Regions from separate parts of the Homo sapiens genome. Here region 1 is linked to region 2. Evidence: promoter capture Hi-C in human tissues and cell types (Jung and others, 2019). All regions are on one chromosome and are shown on one strand. The core of a region is centred on a gene start or on the middle of the fragment in contact, and the rest is flanking DNA. Distances in the headings are between cores, read along the strand shown.

The links. The method cuts DNA at HindIII sites, captures the fragments that hold promoters and counts their contacts. A contact is called where the count stands out against the background at its distance.
Region 1: a contact is called between a fragment that was not itself captured here and the fragment with the promoter of GPR4 in region 2, in 4 of the 25 tissues and cell types used here (dorsolateral prefrontal cortex, heart left ventricle, mesenchymal stem cells and 1 more).

Annotation. Positions count from the first base shown.
Region 1 is chr19:45,714,787-45,721,320 of GRCh38, reverse strand. The region is part of intron 1 of FBXO46 (F-box protein 46); the gene reads left to right. Among named protein-coding and RNA genes, the nearest start is that of FBXO46, 13 kb to the left of the region's middle. RefSeq lists enhancers at 171-671, 3,532-3,581, 3,024-3,694, 3,695-4,365. The HindIII fragment of the contact is 7,183 bases long and covers 1,074-6,534 here.
Region 2 is chr19:45,599,309-45,606,126 of GRCh38, reverse strand. GPR4 (G protein-coupled receptor 4) reads left to right here and starts at 3,915. Exons shown (of 2, transcript NM_005282.3): 1 at 3,915-4,032. The HindIII fragment of the contact is 53,447 bases long and covers 1-6,818 here.

The DNA.
Region 1 (6,534 bases), core at 3,416-5,915, 110 kb before region 2:
CCAGGCTGGAGTGCAGTGGCAAAATCTCAGCTCACTGCACCCTCCACTTCCGGGCTCAAGCGATCCTCCCACTTCAGCCTCCCGAGTAGCTGTGACTGCAGGCACATGCTGGCTAATTTTTGTATTTTTAGTAGAGACGGGGTTTTGCCATGTTGCCCAGGCTGGTCTCAAATTCATTGGCTTAAGCGATCTGTCTGCCTCGGCTTCCCAAAGTGCTGGGATTACAGGCGCGAGCCACCACACGTGGCCTATTTTTCCTTATTTGTTTGGTTTATTCTGTTGTTTTTTTCCCCGCTTCACTTCTTTTTTTTTTTTTTTTTGGCTGAGAGTCTTGCTCTGTCACCCAGGCTGGAGTGCAGTGGTGCAATCTCGGCTCATTGCAGCCACGCCTCCTGGGTTCAAGCAATTCTCCGATTCTCCTGTCTCAAGCTCCTGAGTAGCTGGGATTACAGGAGCCTGCCACCACATTACAGGTGTGAGCCACTGCGCCCAGCCAGGATGATGTTTATATTGTAGTTTAGACCTTGAGCTCTGGAGTCAGCTGATCTTTGATTCTAAGTTCTGACTTGGTGTGGTTGCTCCTGCCTGTAGTCCCAGCACTTGGGGAGGCCAAGGTGGAGGATTGCTTGAGTTCAAGAGTTCAAGACTGGCCTAGGCAACATAGTGAGACCTCATCAGTACAAAAAAATGTAAAAATTAGCTGGGCGTGCTGGTATACACCTGTGGTTTCAGCTCCTCAAAAGGCTGGGATAGGCTGGGCACAGTGGCTCACACCTGTAATCCTAGCACTTTGGGAGGCTGAGGCGGGTGGATCACTTGAGGTAAGGAGTTCAAGACCAGCCTGATCAACATGGTGAAACCCTGTCTCTACTAAAAATACAAATATTAGGCCAGGTGCAGTGGCTCACGCCTGTAATCTCAACACTTTGGGAGGCCAAGGTGGGGTGGATCACCTGAGGTCAGGAGTTCGAGACCAGTCTGGCCAACATGGTGAAACTCCATCTCTACTAAAAATGAAAAAATTATCTGGACATGGTGGCGCACACCTGTAGTCCCAGCTACTTGGGAGGCTTAGGCAAGCAAATCGCTTGAACCGGGAGGCAGAGGTTGCAGTGATTGCAGTGAGCCGAGATCGCACCGTTACACTCCAGCCTGGGCAACAGAGCAAGACTCCGTCTTAAAAAAAAAAACAAAAAAGAAGGCAGCTGAGATGGGAGGATCACTTGAGCCCAGGAGATTGAGGCTGCGTTGAGGCGAGATTGCACTCCAGCCTGGGTGACAGTGAGACCATCTCAGAAAACAACAAAAAACAAAACACACACTCACAAAAACAGAGTTCTGCTACAAAGCTATAAATGAGGGCAATTACTTAGCCATTCTCTGCCTCAGTTTCCTTATCTTCAACACGAAATTAAAAATAGGAGATAGAAGAATCAAACAAGTTCATATTTGTAGAGTGCTCGAGTATTGACTGCTGTTGTGATTATCATTTTCTAATATATTCATGTTGGTTCTGACTGTTTGTTTGGATGTCTGACCCCTTTCCCATGAGCCATTCCTGGGGAGCTCAGTGTCACCTGTGTGTTCCAGCGCCCAACAATGGCCAGCATGCAGGACCACAGTGAATGTCAGAGACAAGTTTTTGCAAATGCACCATGTATGTATGTATGCTAGGGATGTAAATATGTGGATTATTTAATTGTTGGGGGCATTCAACCAAGGGTGTAGATTGAGTGGTTCAGGTCCTTACTAATTTTCCCAAGCAGTCTTTTCTTAGAAATATGTTGTTTTCCCATATCAATTGTGGATTTAACAAACTTTCCCTTGTCATTTGTAAGTTTATGGCTGTCATGTGTAGAGATGGTCGTTTTTTGCTTTATCTATTTGGAAGCCATAGTATTTGGATCATGTATGTTGAGAACTTTTGTGTATAATGGGTCACTTCCACCTCCCTCCCCCAGCCCTAGGGACTCATGTAGAGAAGTAAATAATTGGTCATTTTGTTTCGTCATCATCCATTGCTTTTGTCAGTTTATTTATTTTTTATTTATTTAATTTATTTTTAATTTAATTTAAGACAGTCTCGTGCTGTCACCCAGAGTGGAGTGCAGTGGCCTGATCTGAGCTCACTGCAGCCTCTACCTCCTGGGCTCAAGCAATCCTCCCACCTCAGCCTCCTGAGTACTTGGGACTACAGGCACGTGCCACCACACCCTGCTAATTTGTGTATTTTTTGTAGTGATGGGGTTTCACCATGTTGCCCAGGCTGGTCGCAGACTCCTGAGCTCAAGGGATTGTGTCCCCCCTCTGCCTCCCAAAGTGCTGGGATTACAGGTGTGAGCCACCGTGCCTGGCCAAGTTTTTTTTTTTTTTTTTTTAAGGGGTAATGTTACTCCTCTACTTGTCTCTTGGTTCGTGTTTTCCCAGCCAGTTTTTTGCCGTCTTTTGATTTTCCATATTTTTGGTTCACAATGTTTTACAATGAATAGATTTTCATGGAGTAGTTGCTGAAGGCTGACCTAGTGTAGGGCCTTATGCTGGGCTCAGTGTGGGGGAGTTAGAAGATCCTGTCTCAGGCCTGGAGAGAGACCCACCCCAGACGATGACCCAGAGTAGGCAGGGAAGAGGGAACCCAGAGGTCCCCTCTGGGCAGGTGGGTGATTTCCAGGAAGGGAGTTGGAGAAGGCCTCTCTAATAAAACTGCATTTGAACACAGACCTGAATGAAGTAAGGAATTGAGCCTTGCAGAGGGGGAATGTATTGCAGTTGGTGGGAACAGCAAATGCAGAGACCAGGGAAGGCAAGAGCCCGGTAACTTTGAGGAATAGACAGCAATGAGCCCACCGCATGGACGCCCTGGGTGAAGCCTGACCTGGCCTAGGGGGATTGGGGGTGTCAGCTTCTTAGAGGAGGGGTGGTCGAGCTGAAACCCCAGGGAATATATAGTGAAACAGTAGGGCACAGTGACTAGGAAATCAGATTCCCTGGCTTCATATCCCTGCTCCAGCTCACACTCCAGCTCTGTGTGACCTTGTGGTCAGGAGACCTGCCCTGCGTCAGTTTCTTCATCCATACCGTGGAGACGATCACTCCTACCGGGGATCAGATGGGTCCTGAGTATTCTATGTATGCCAGATCAGGTGCCCACCAGGGTGCACTGGGGTATTGCCTGCGGGGCGGAGGAGTGGGGAGGGATGCGACTGGACAGGTGGGGTACCTGGGTGTTTTCCAGAGGGCACTGGGGAGCCATGGCAGGTTCTCACCAGGATAGGGACGGGTTCAGGTTTATAGGACTGTGCTTTAACAGGACTTTTCTGGCTGCTCTTTTGTACTAAGTGAGGCAGGTTTGGGGCGCCTGTTTGGAAAGGCTGAACTGGCAGCTCCGAATGGCTACACGGCTTGAGCCTTGAACGCCAGGCCTAGAGGCTTGTTTTCAGTTGCCGTGGGAACCTTCGTAGGGTTCTGTCCATTTGTTTTTCAGGGTGGGGTTATCCCGATGCCCAATTCCCCCCGCGGAAATCCTCAGCCCGCCCCCCGCCCCCACAGTTCCCAACCAAAGCTGGATACTCTGATCTCTCCGCCTGCTTCCTTCCGCCTTGGTGTTCTTAATCCCCGGGCTGCCTGGCCCTTTAAGTCTCAAGCGTCAATCAGGGCTTCTGTTCGAGGGGACGTGGTGTAATAAGCCTCCCCTGGAGTGTCGTGGCCTTTGCCCTGACCTTGTTCCGTTTAGCTGGACGTTGGGAGTTGTTCCACGCTCCCTTGCATCCGGCTGTGTCTACCCCACCACCCACTCCCATCACCTCTCGCCTACTCCTCCCTATTTCGAAGTTGGGCCCCTTCGCCAAGGCCTGCCTTATATGGGCACGGCCCCGAATGGCGGCCGCTCATTGGCTGAGAGCGTCACGCGCGCGTCTGTCAACAAAAGGGCGGAGGGAAGCTAGTTGCTAGTCTGCCCGCGCGGTGGCCGGAGGGAAGGAGCGAGGGGGCGGGCCCTTTTACCTTTCGCGCGCATGCGTGTGGGCTGCAGCCTTCTCCCGCCGCCTGGGGGGGCTGCGGGTGAGGGCTCTTTGGGGGCGTGTGTAGGTTTCGAGGGTCACCTGAGGGGTTTGGAAGATTTCTTTGGGGGGGCGGTTACAAGATTTGGGGGTTCCTTTTCCATTTGCAAAATGTTCTGGGGCTTGGGGAAGTTTTAACGTGGGTTTAGGGGATACTTTTGGGGTTCTCTCGCGCTTAAGGGGCACCTTGGAGTTTGGGTTCGTTTGTAATGCGGAAGGTTCGGTTGTGTTTTCGGGATCGGGTTCCCTTTGTGTTTTGGAGTGTTTGTTGGGCATAGAATTTGGGGAGCTCCCGGAGAGACAGAAGCAAAGAGCCCGAGAGTACCAGTCCTGGAGGTGGAATGTCTGGGCTCGCGTCTTGACTTCCTACCTGTCTTAACCCGGACAGGAGATTTCACCTGTGTCTCATCGGGAACTAGGCATTAATAACACTACCTGCTTCCTAGGGACCGAGGAGGATTAGGAATTGTTAGCGCAGTACCTACCTAGTAAGCTCGCAGCGAGCGTGCAGTAAGCACATGTCTGCTATTGTAACATTTGTGAGGTTTCTTTGTTTTTTTTTTTTGGCTTTGTGAAACATTTTTATGGTTTAAGATTCATCTTAAAGTGTTAGGGAGCTTTTGTGTTTTCAAAGAGTTCGTCTGCTGTTGGAGGCTTCTAGTGGAATTGGGAGATAATGGAGGAGGGTTGGGGGGAGTATAGGATTCCGGGAGAGTGATTGTTTATGACATAGTTTGGGGAATTGCTGTGTTGGGATCTGTGAGAGATTGACTGAGATTCGGCCCTTCAGTGCTGGAGAGGATATTTTTAGGTTCGGTGGTTTAAAGTAGTATTTGAAAGCTTTTCGATATTTGGGGGAGGACATTGAGATGCTGGGGGTAAGGTTGGAACTGATTAGGGGACTTGAGGGGGTGGCCAGGTTGTAGCAGGATGGCATCTGTAGAGACTGGCTTTTGCTGTGTTAGCCTGCCTCCCTGGGCAGTTGGTTATACAGGTCAAGTATCCCTTACCCGAAAATCTTGGGACTAAAAAGTGTTTCGGATTTTGGATTTCTTCGGATTTTGAGTATTTGCATTATACTTATCAGTTGAGTATGCCAAGTCTGAAAAATCTGAAATGCTCTAATGAGCATATCCTATCAGTGTCATCTTGGCACTCAAAAAGTTCTGAATTTGGGAGCATTTTGGATTTTCAGATTTGAGATACTCAACATGTATGTGAATTGGTGGTTGGTAAACAGCCATCTATAGGTTTTGGAGGCTGTGGAGTGATATTTTTAACACTGAGCTGAGATTACAGCAGGGACTGTAAGTATTTGAGGGGTAGGTGGGATTGGGGATTATGGAGTGGAGATAAAGATTCTTGACATGGGGATTCTCTGTGTTTACTGGTACCTGTGAGTGCTTGGAGGCTGTCTGGATTTTGTTTTGTTTTCTTTCTTTTTTTTTTTTTTTTTTTTGAGATGGAGTTTAGCTCTTGTCGCCCAGGCTGGAGTGCAGTGGCAAGATCTCAGTTCACTGCAACCTCCGCCTCCCGGTTCAAGCTATTCTCCTGCCTCAGCCTCCTGAGTAGATGGGACTACAGGCGCGCACCACCACGCCTGGCTAATTTTTGTATTTTTAGTAGAGACGGGGTTTTGCCATGTTAGCCAGGCTGATCTCGAATTCCTGACATCAGATGATCCGCCTGCCTCGGCCTCCCAAAGTGCTGGGATTACAGGTGTGAGCCACTGTGCCAGGCCTGGAATTGTTTGAATTTAGAGGGATGGTCTGTACTGCAGGAGTTGGCAAACTTTTTCCATAAAGAGCCAGATAATGGGTATTTTAAGCTTTGCAGGCCATGTGGTCTTTGTTCTGCTATTCAGCTCTGCTGTTGAAGATGAAAGCATCCATAAACAAATGAGCATGTTTCAATAAAACTTTATTTACAAAGACAGCGAGCTGGATTAGGCTTCTGGGCCATAGTTTGCTGACCTCTCTGGCCTGTAGGCATGTGGAAGTTTCAAGGTTTAAAGGGTCATTTTGGTTTTGAGCTGTCTGGAGGGAGATGAGCCAGAGAAAGATTGAGGCATATGTTACTTAGTAGGTTCAAACTGCAGTGAAAGTGATCATGTCGGACTCATGCGCAAGATTGCCTCCAGATTAGGTCATTCACATCAAGTCATTCCAAAATAAAATAGTCATTAACAGAGCCCTAAATTGAAGAGTCCAGAAATCAAGTTGAGAGCCTCTTTTTGCTCCGGACCCACTGTAATCTTAGCTATGTCACCCTTCCCCACTCTGAGCCTCTGTTTATCTGTGTGCAGCTTGAGGAGAAAGCTAGGCTAGAACAGGCACCCTCGTGTTTTCTTTCTTTTTTTTTCCCAAGATGGGTTCTCTCTCAGTCACCCAGGCTGGAGTGCAGTGGTATGATCACAGCATCACAGCTCACTGCAGCCTCCACCTCCTGGGCTCAAGCGATACTCCCACCTCAGCCTCCC
Region 2 (6,818 bases), core at 2,666-5,165:
TAGAGGCTGCAGTGAGTTATGATGGAGCCACTGTACTCCAGCCTGGACAAAAGAGTGAGACCCCATCTCTTAAAAGAAAAATCCCTGAGAGGAAGGGGGTAATGTGGTTCACAGAGGTAAAGTCACCTGTCCAAAGCCACACAAGATTATAAGAATAGCTATGTTTTTGTTTGTTTTATTAATTAATTAATTTATTTATTTTTGAGACAGAGTTTCGCTCTTGTTGCCCAGACTAGAGTGCAATGGCACGATCTTGGGTCACTGCAACCTCCACCTCCTGGGTTCAAGTGATTCTTCTGCCTCAGCCTCCCGAGTAGCTGTGTTTACAGGCATGTGTCACCACGCCCGGCTAATTTTGTATTTTTAGTAGAGACAGGGTTTCTTCATGTTGGTCAGGCTAGTCTTGAACTCTTGACCTCAGGTGATCCGCCTGCCTTGGCCTCCCAAAGTGTTGGGATTACAGGCATGATCCAGTGCACCTGCACTATTTATTTATTTTTTGAGATGGAGTCTTGCTCTGTCGCCCAGGCTAGAGTGCAATGGCGCAATCTCGGCTCACTGCAACCTCCACCTCCTGGGTTCAAGCAATTATCCTGCCTCAGCCTTCCGAGTAGCTGGGATTACAGACATCCACCATCACACCCAACTAATTTTTGTATTTTTAGTAGAGACGGGATTTCGCCATGTTGGCCAGTCTGGTCTTGAACTCCTCACCTCAAGTGATCTGCCCACCTCAGCCTCCCAAAGTGCTGGGATTACAGGTGTGAGACACCGCACCTGGCCGATATCCTGAGTCTTGATTTGGGTGTTTAATTACATGGTGTATCCAATTTTCAGGATTCCTTATATTCTTCCCTTAAGATCTGAACATTTTAATCAAATTTTTTGAGACTAATTGTTAATTAAATGTAATTTTTAATTACATTTATTTTTTAATCACGGCTAATTTTTATTTTTTATTTTTTTTTGTAGAGATGGGGGTCTCACTTTTTTGTCCAGGCTGGTCTCAAACTCCTGGGCTCGAGTGATCCTCCCGCCTCAGCCTCCCAAAGTGCTGGGATTACAGGCATGAGCCACAGAGCTTAGGTGCCCTTTCTTCCCCCTCTGTTTCCCAGGCTGTAGTGCAGTGGTGCGATCTTGGCGCACTGCAACCTCCGCCTCCTGGGTTCAGGTGATCCTCCCACCTTGGCCTGCGCAGTAGCTGGGACCACAGGCACGCACCACCCAGCTGGCTAGTTAAAAGAAATTTTTTTTTTGTAGAGACAGAGTCTTGCTATGTTGCCCAGGTTGATCTCAAACTCCTGGCTTCAATTGATCAACCTGCCTTGGCCTCCTAAAGTGATGGGATTACAGGCATGAACCACCATGCCTGGCCTACATTTTAATTTAATTTAAAAATAAACACAAAAGAGCTGGGCGCGATGGCTGATGCCTATAATCCCAGCACTTTGGGAGACCTAGGCAGGCTGATCACCTGAGGTCAGGAGTTCGAGACCAGCCTGGCCAACATGGTGAAAACCTGTCTCTACTAAAAACACAAAAAGTAGCCGGGTGTGGTGGTGTTCACCTGTAGTCCCAGCTACTCGGGAGGCTGAGGCAGGATAATCACTTGAACCTGGGAGGTGGAGGTTGCAGTTAACTGAGATGGCACAATGGCACTCCAGCCTGGGGGACAGAGCAAGACTCTGTCTCAAAAAAACAAAAAACAAGCCAGGTGCCGTGGCTCATGCCTGTAATCCCAGCACTTTGGGAGGCCGTGGCAGGCAGATGACCTGAGGTCAGGAGTTCGAGACCAGCCTGGCCAACATGGTGAAACCCTGTCTCTACTAAAAACAAAAAAATTAGCTGGGTGTGGTGGTGCATGCCTGTATACCCAGCTACCAGAGGCTGAGACAGGAGAATTGCTTGTACCCGGCAGGAGGAGGTTGTATTGAGCTGAGATCATGTCCCTGCACTCCAGCCTGGGCACAGCAAGACTCTGTCTCAAAAAAAAAAAAAAAAATCAAACCTGACAGCTATCATTTTTTAGTGTTATATGCCACATCTATCTGAAGTCCCTTGACCAATAATGAATTCTCATGATTAGTTTATGAAAGATGTGATGTTAATAATAAAAATAAGCTAATGTTTTAGGAGCACTTATCATTCATTTGTTCACTCCCTGAAAACAATGTTTTTTGTTTTTTGTTTTGAGATGGAGTCTTGCTCTGTCACCCAGGCTGGAGTGCAGTGGCGCGGTCTTGGCTCACTGCAAGCTCCGCCTCCCGGGTTCATGCCGTTCTCCTGCCTCAGCCTCCTGATTAGCTGGGACAACAGGCGCCCACCATCACATCTGGCTAATTTTTTTGTATTTTTAGTAGAGATGGGGTTTCACTGTGTTAGCCAGGATGGTCTCCATCTCCTGACCTCGTGATCCGCCTGCCTCAGCCTCCCAAAGTGCTGGGATTACAGGCGTGAGCCACCACGCTCGGCCAGAAAACAATGTGTTTCACACCTATCACCTGCCCAGCAGTCTTCTAGGCAACAGACATGCAACAGTAAACAAGCCAGACACAAAAATGACACTCTTCCTAGTAGGAAGGCAGACAACTAGAAAAAAATAAGAGAATGTTGCCTTCCCCAAAGGGTAGGGGAAAAGTGAGGCAGAGAAAGATGGGGAGTGTTGGGGTCTGGTTGGCATATTTTACAGACTTGATAGCATTGACACCATTAAATGAGACCGCCAGGAGAAAAGGACCATGATGGCCGGCCTCGGTGGCTCAGGCTTATAATCCCAGCACTTTGGGAGGCCAAAGCAGAAGGATGGCTTGAGCCCAGGAGTTTGAGACCAGCCTAGACAACATAGTGAGACCCCTGTCTATAGAAAAAAAAAATTTTTTAAATTGGCCAGGTGTGGTGGCACACGCCTGTAGTCCCAGCAACTCAGGAGGCTGAGGTGGGAGGATCACTTGAGCCTGGAAGGTTGAGGCCGCAGGGAGCCATGATCGTGCCACTGAACTCCAGACTGGGCAAGAGAGTGAAAACCTGTCTCAAAAAAAGAAAAAAGGTGGGGCACGGTGGCTCACGCCTGTAATCCCAACACTTTTTGGAGGCCGAGGTGGGCAGATAGCTGGAGCTTAGGAGTTCGAGACCAGCCTGGCCAACTTGGTGAAACCCCGTCTCTATTAAAAATACAAAAATTAGCCGGGCGTGGTGGTGTGTGCCTGTAATCCCAGCTACTCGGGAGGCTGAGGCAGGAGAATCGCTTGAACCTGGAAGGCAGAGATTGCAGTGAGCCAAGATTGTGCCACTGCACTCCAGTCTGGGCAACAGAGCATGACTCTGTCTCGAAAGAAAAGAAAGAAAAAAGCAAAGCAAAGCAAAGCAAAGAAAAGAAGGAAGCAAGCAGGCACCATGAGTGACCACCTTGATTCAAAGAGGAAACTGAGGCACGGAGATGTCACTAGCCTAAGGTCTGACCAAGAGTCAGGCTGGAAATGCAACCCCAGAGCTCCTTCTAGGGGTGGCCCTGACTTTGGAGTTGGGGACCTAACAGAACCCTTTATTCTCTCCGTTGTTGGGGAGGAAGATGCAGAAGGTTAATGACCAGAGGATGAATGACTGAAGCCTGGGGTCTCTAAGGGAGGAAATGGCTTAACCCAGGGAAGGTCAGTAGCGGGGGCCTCCTCTTCCCATAGCCGAGGACCTGATAAATTTGGGGGTGTGTGGTTGGAGAGAGGGGACCTTCCAGCTGGGGACTTGGAAGGATTCGGGGGTGTTCCAGTAGCAGATGAGCCTCACCCGTGGCTGGAGGCGTTTAATGGGGTGAAGCCTGAAAGGGGTTAAGGGGCAGCGGCAAAGGTGGGGTTAATGGGGGCGGGCCTGGCCGGGGCGGGGCCTCGGCTGGCGGCTCTGGCCCGGGGGCCGGGAGGAGTAGCCGCTGTTCTGCCCCGCGGGGGCATCCGCTGGGTCCCCGCGCCGTTGTCAAGACCGGGGACCTGGACGCAGCGGAGAGAGGTGCCGCCGCCCGCCCCGTCCAGTCGCCGCGCGCAGGTAAGTGCCGGGTCCTCCCCGGCTGCCCGCGATGCTGCGGGGTCTCACTAGGTTGCCCTGCTCGTGGCGAGACCGCTCCTCCCCGCCCCCTCGGGGGCTGCCTCAGTCTCCCGCGCCGTCTCGGTGCCCGCCCCCTCTGTTGCTCTCCCTGGCTTTGCGTCTGTCTCCAACTCCCGCCTGATGTCTCTGTGTCTGTGGTCCCTCTGCCTCTGGACGTGTCTTTCCTTCTGTGTCTCTGGATGTCTCTGTCTTTTTCTTGATCTCTGCCTCTCTGTCTCCGTCTGTCTGTCTCTGTCTCTCTGTTTCTGGGTCCCACCTCCCTCTGCCCCTGCCTCTGCCTCACCCCCGTCTGTTGTGGGACCTCTGCGGATGTCTCTGACTCTATCTCCATCTCTCCCTGTCTCTGTGTATCTCTTTGCTCTCTCCCTTCCTGTCTCTTCATCTCTATTGCCCTGTCTCTTTCTCTCCGTCTCTTATAACACTGTTTTGGCACCTTCAGCTCTGTCTTCTCTCCTTCCAAATCCTCCGCATCCCGGAACTTTCCTCTGGGCTGGGAACCTGCTTGGGAGTGGGGTAGGGGGCAGGAGGCTTGTGACCTGGGGCAGGCGGACTCTAAGTGACACCATGATCCCAGCGCCCCCTTCACGGAGCCACCCCACTGCCCCTCAGGTCGCACCCAGCCCGCCCGCCAATTTCAGGAATTCCTGCCTGGGGGGTGGACTTCCTCCCCTACTTCCTCTCTTCCAGGATTTGGCTGGGTCACCATTAACTCTTTCCTGCTTCCGCCTCACTCTCCCCCCTGGAACTGGACAACCCCTCCTCCCAAACTAGGCTGAGGAATAGCTCTAGGATATCTGTGAGGCATCGGTTGTGGGATGTGTGTGTGTGCGTACTCAGGCTGGATATGCATTGGGGAATTTGTTTGGCGCAGAAGTGGAGAGGATGGGGCCACACCCCCCAGTTCCCCCTCCAGAGCCCACCATCAGCCCCCCTCCTCCTGAGCCCACCAAGGGGGTATCCGCCCCCACCTCTGTCTTTGTAGATGAACTTGACTTCAGGTTTGGGGTGAGGATGAGGAGGTTTTCTTTTCTGGGGGAATCCCAGCTGAAGAGGATGAAAGACCCATAGGGGCTCCTGGAACCCTGGGAATCCTATGATCAAGTACCTTGAATGTGAACATCTTTGAATGGAAGGGCCCAGATGGAAGAAGCATTGGAGGGGAGGCCTGGGAATTCCAGATCTTTCCAATCAAAGGTCCTGGGGATACTGGAGTCCTTCAATCCAAAAAGAGGAGTGTTGAAATCTTGGCACGTTTCAGTGATGGCAGCTGAGAGCTGGAAAGGGTTTGCGGAGCCACCTAGGCCAACTCCCCCTGCCCCCATTTTATAGATGGAGAAACTGAGGTCCAAAAGCAGAAGTCCCCACAGTGAGTCAGTGCCAGGCTGGAGGGTTGGGACCCCAGTTTTCAACTGAAGCCCAAATCCACAGAGCTGGCTTCTTCTGCTACCACTAAGTCGGATTAATTTGGGGAAAGAGGTCTTCTCAATGAGGAGGGAGAGATGCCAGGGTGAGTAGAAATGGCTGGAATCCAGAAGGGAGGGTTTTAGAAGCAGAGGAGAGAAAATATTTCCAAAACCATGGTGGTGGGGAGGGAGAGGGGCAATAGTTGGTTTGGGTGGAAGGGGTGGAGTTTCGGGAAGAGAGGGAGGGAGGTGGAGGGGAACCGGGATTAACTCCAGCTTCAGTCTCCTGACCCTCCGCCTGGAGCCCACCGTTCCCTCGGGGACAGGGCCTATAATTTGGTTTGTGTCTAGACAAATAATAACTCAGCTGGTGTGAGCGGGGAGGGCTGAGGCTAGGCCCACTAGCGAAAGGGTAGAGAGGCGGCCTGGATATAGCATGTCACCCCCAGGTGGTGAGAATTTAGGGGCCAGGTGGAGGTGGTGACTAACACGCCCCTCTCTTCCCTCCATGAAGCCATAATTTCTTAGAATTCTGCACAATCTTAGAAATCAGGCTGCTGGAATGTTCAAAAGCAGGCGAGAGAAGGGGGGAAAGAAAAGGAAGTGGGGCTCACCGTATTTAGTGTATGTTCCCATTTCTGTAAAAGAGAAAAGGGAAATACATATTCCTGTTTGCTGGGGAAAGATAAAAATCACTGAGCGTTTAATAATAGATTATGAAAGTCATAGAATGCTTAAAAAAATCATAGCGTGTTCTAACAATAGAACTTTCGAATCTTGGAATGTGACACTCCTAGAATATTGGAAACTTAGGGTAGGTACTTACAAAGCCACGATGTAATAAATAGAATGAAAGAAGAGTAACGCTCTAGAATGTTATAATAGAACATTCAACTGCGAAGTGAACTAAGGATAGAACCTGAAGACTGCAGAACCATAGAGACCTAGAACGTCAGAGAGGCCATCTAAGGACTGGTATCCCTAGTAGGCAGTGTGGGCTTTGGGGGCACAGAGACCCTCTCGGTTGAAACAGGGATACTGAGGTGCAGTGGGGCCGTTAGGGTAGCCCGATTGCCCCCTGGTTTCCGCCGGCCGCCAGGGCACCAGGTGGGGAGCGAGGACCAGTGATCACATTTCGTCCCTAATGAGCAGACCGGAGCTGGCTGGTCCCTTGGGGCTGCAGGGAGAAGGCGGGGAGGGGGGGGTGGTGGGAGCAGGAGCCCACAGAGGAGGAAAAGGGGGAGGTGAGATAGCCTGGTGGCATCGGGGACAAGGCTGGTGAGTGAGCCCAGGGGTGCTGGGGGATGCGGGGGGCTGTAGCAC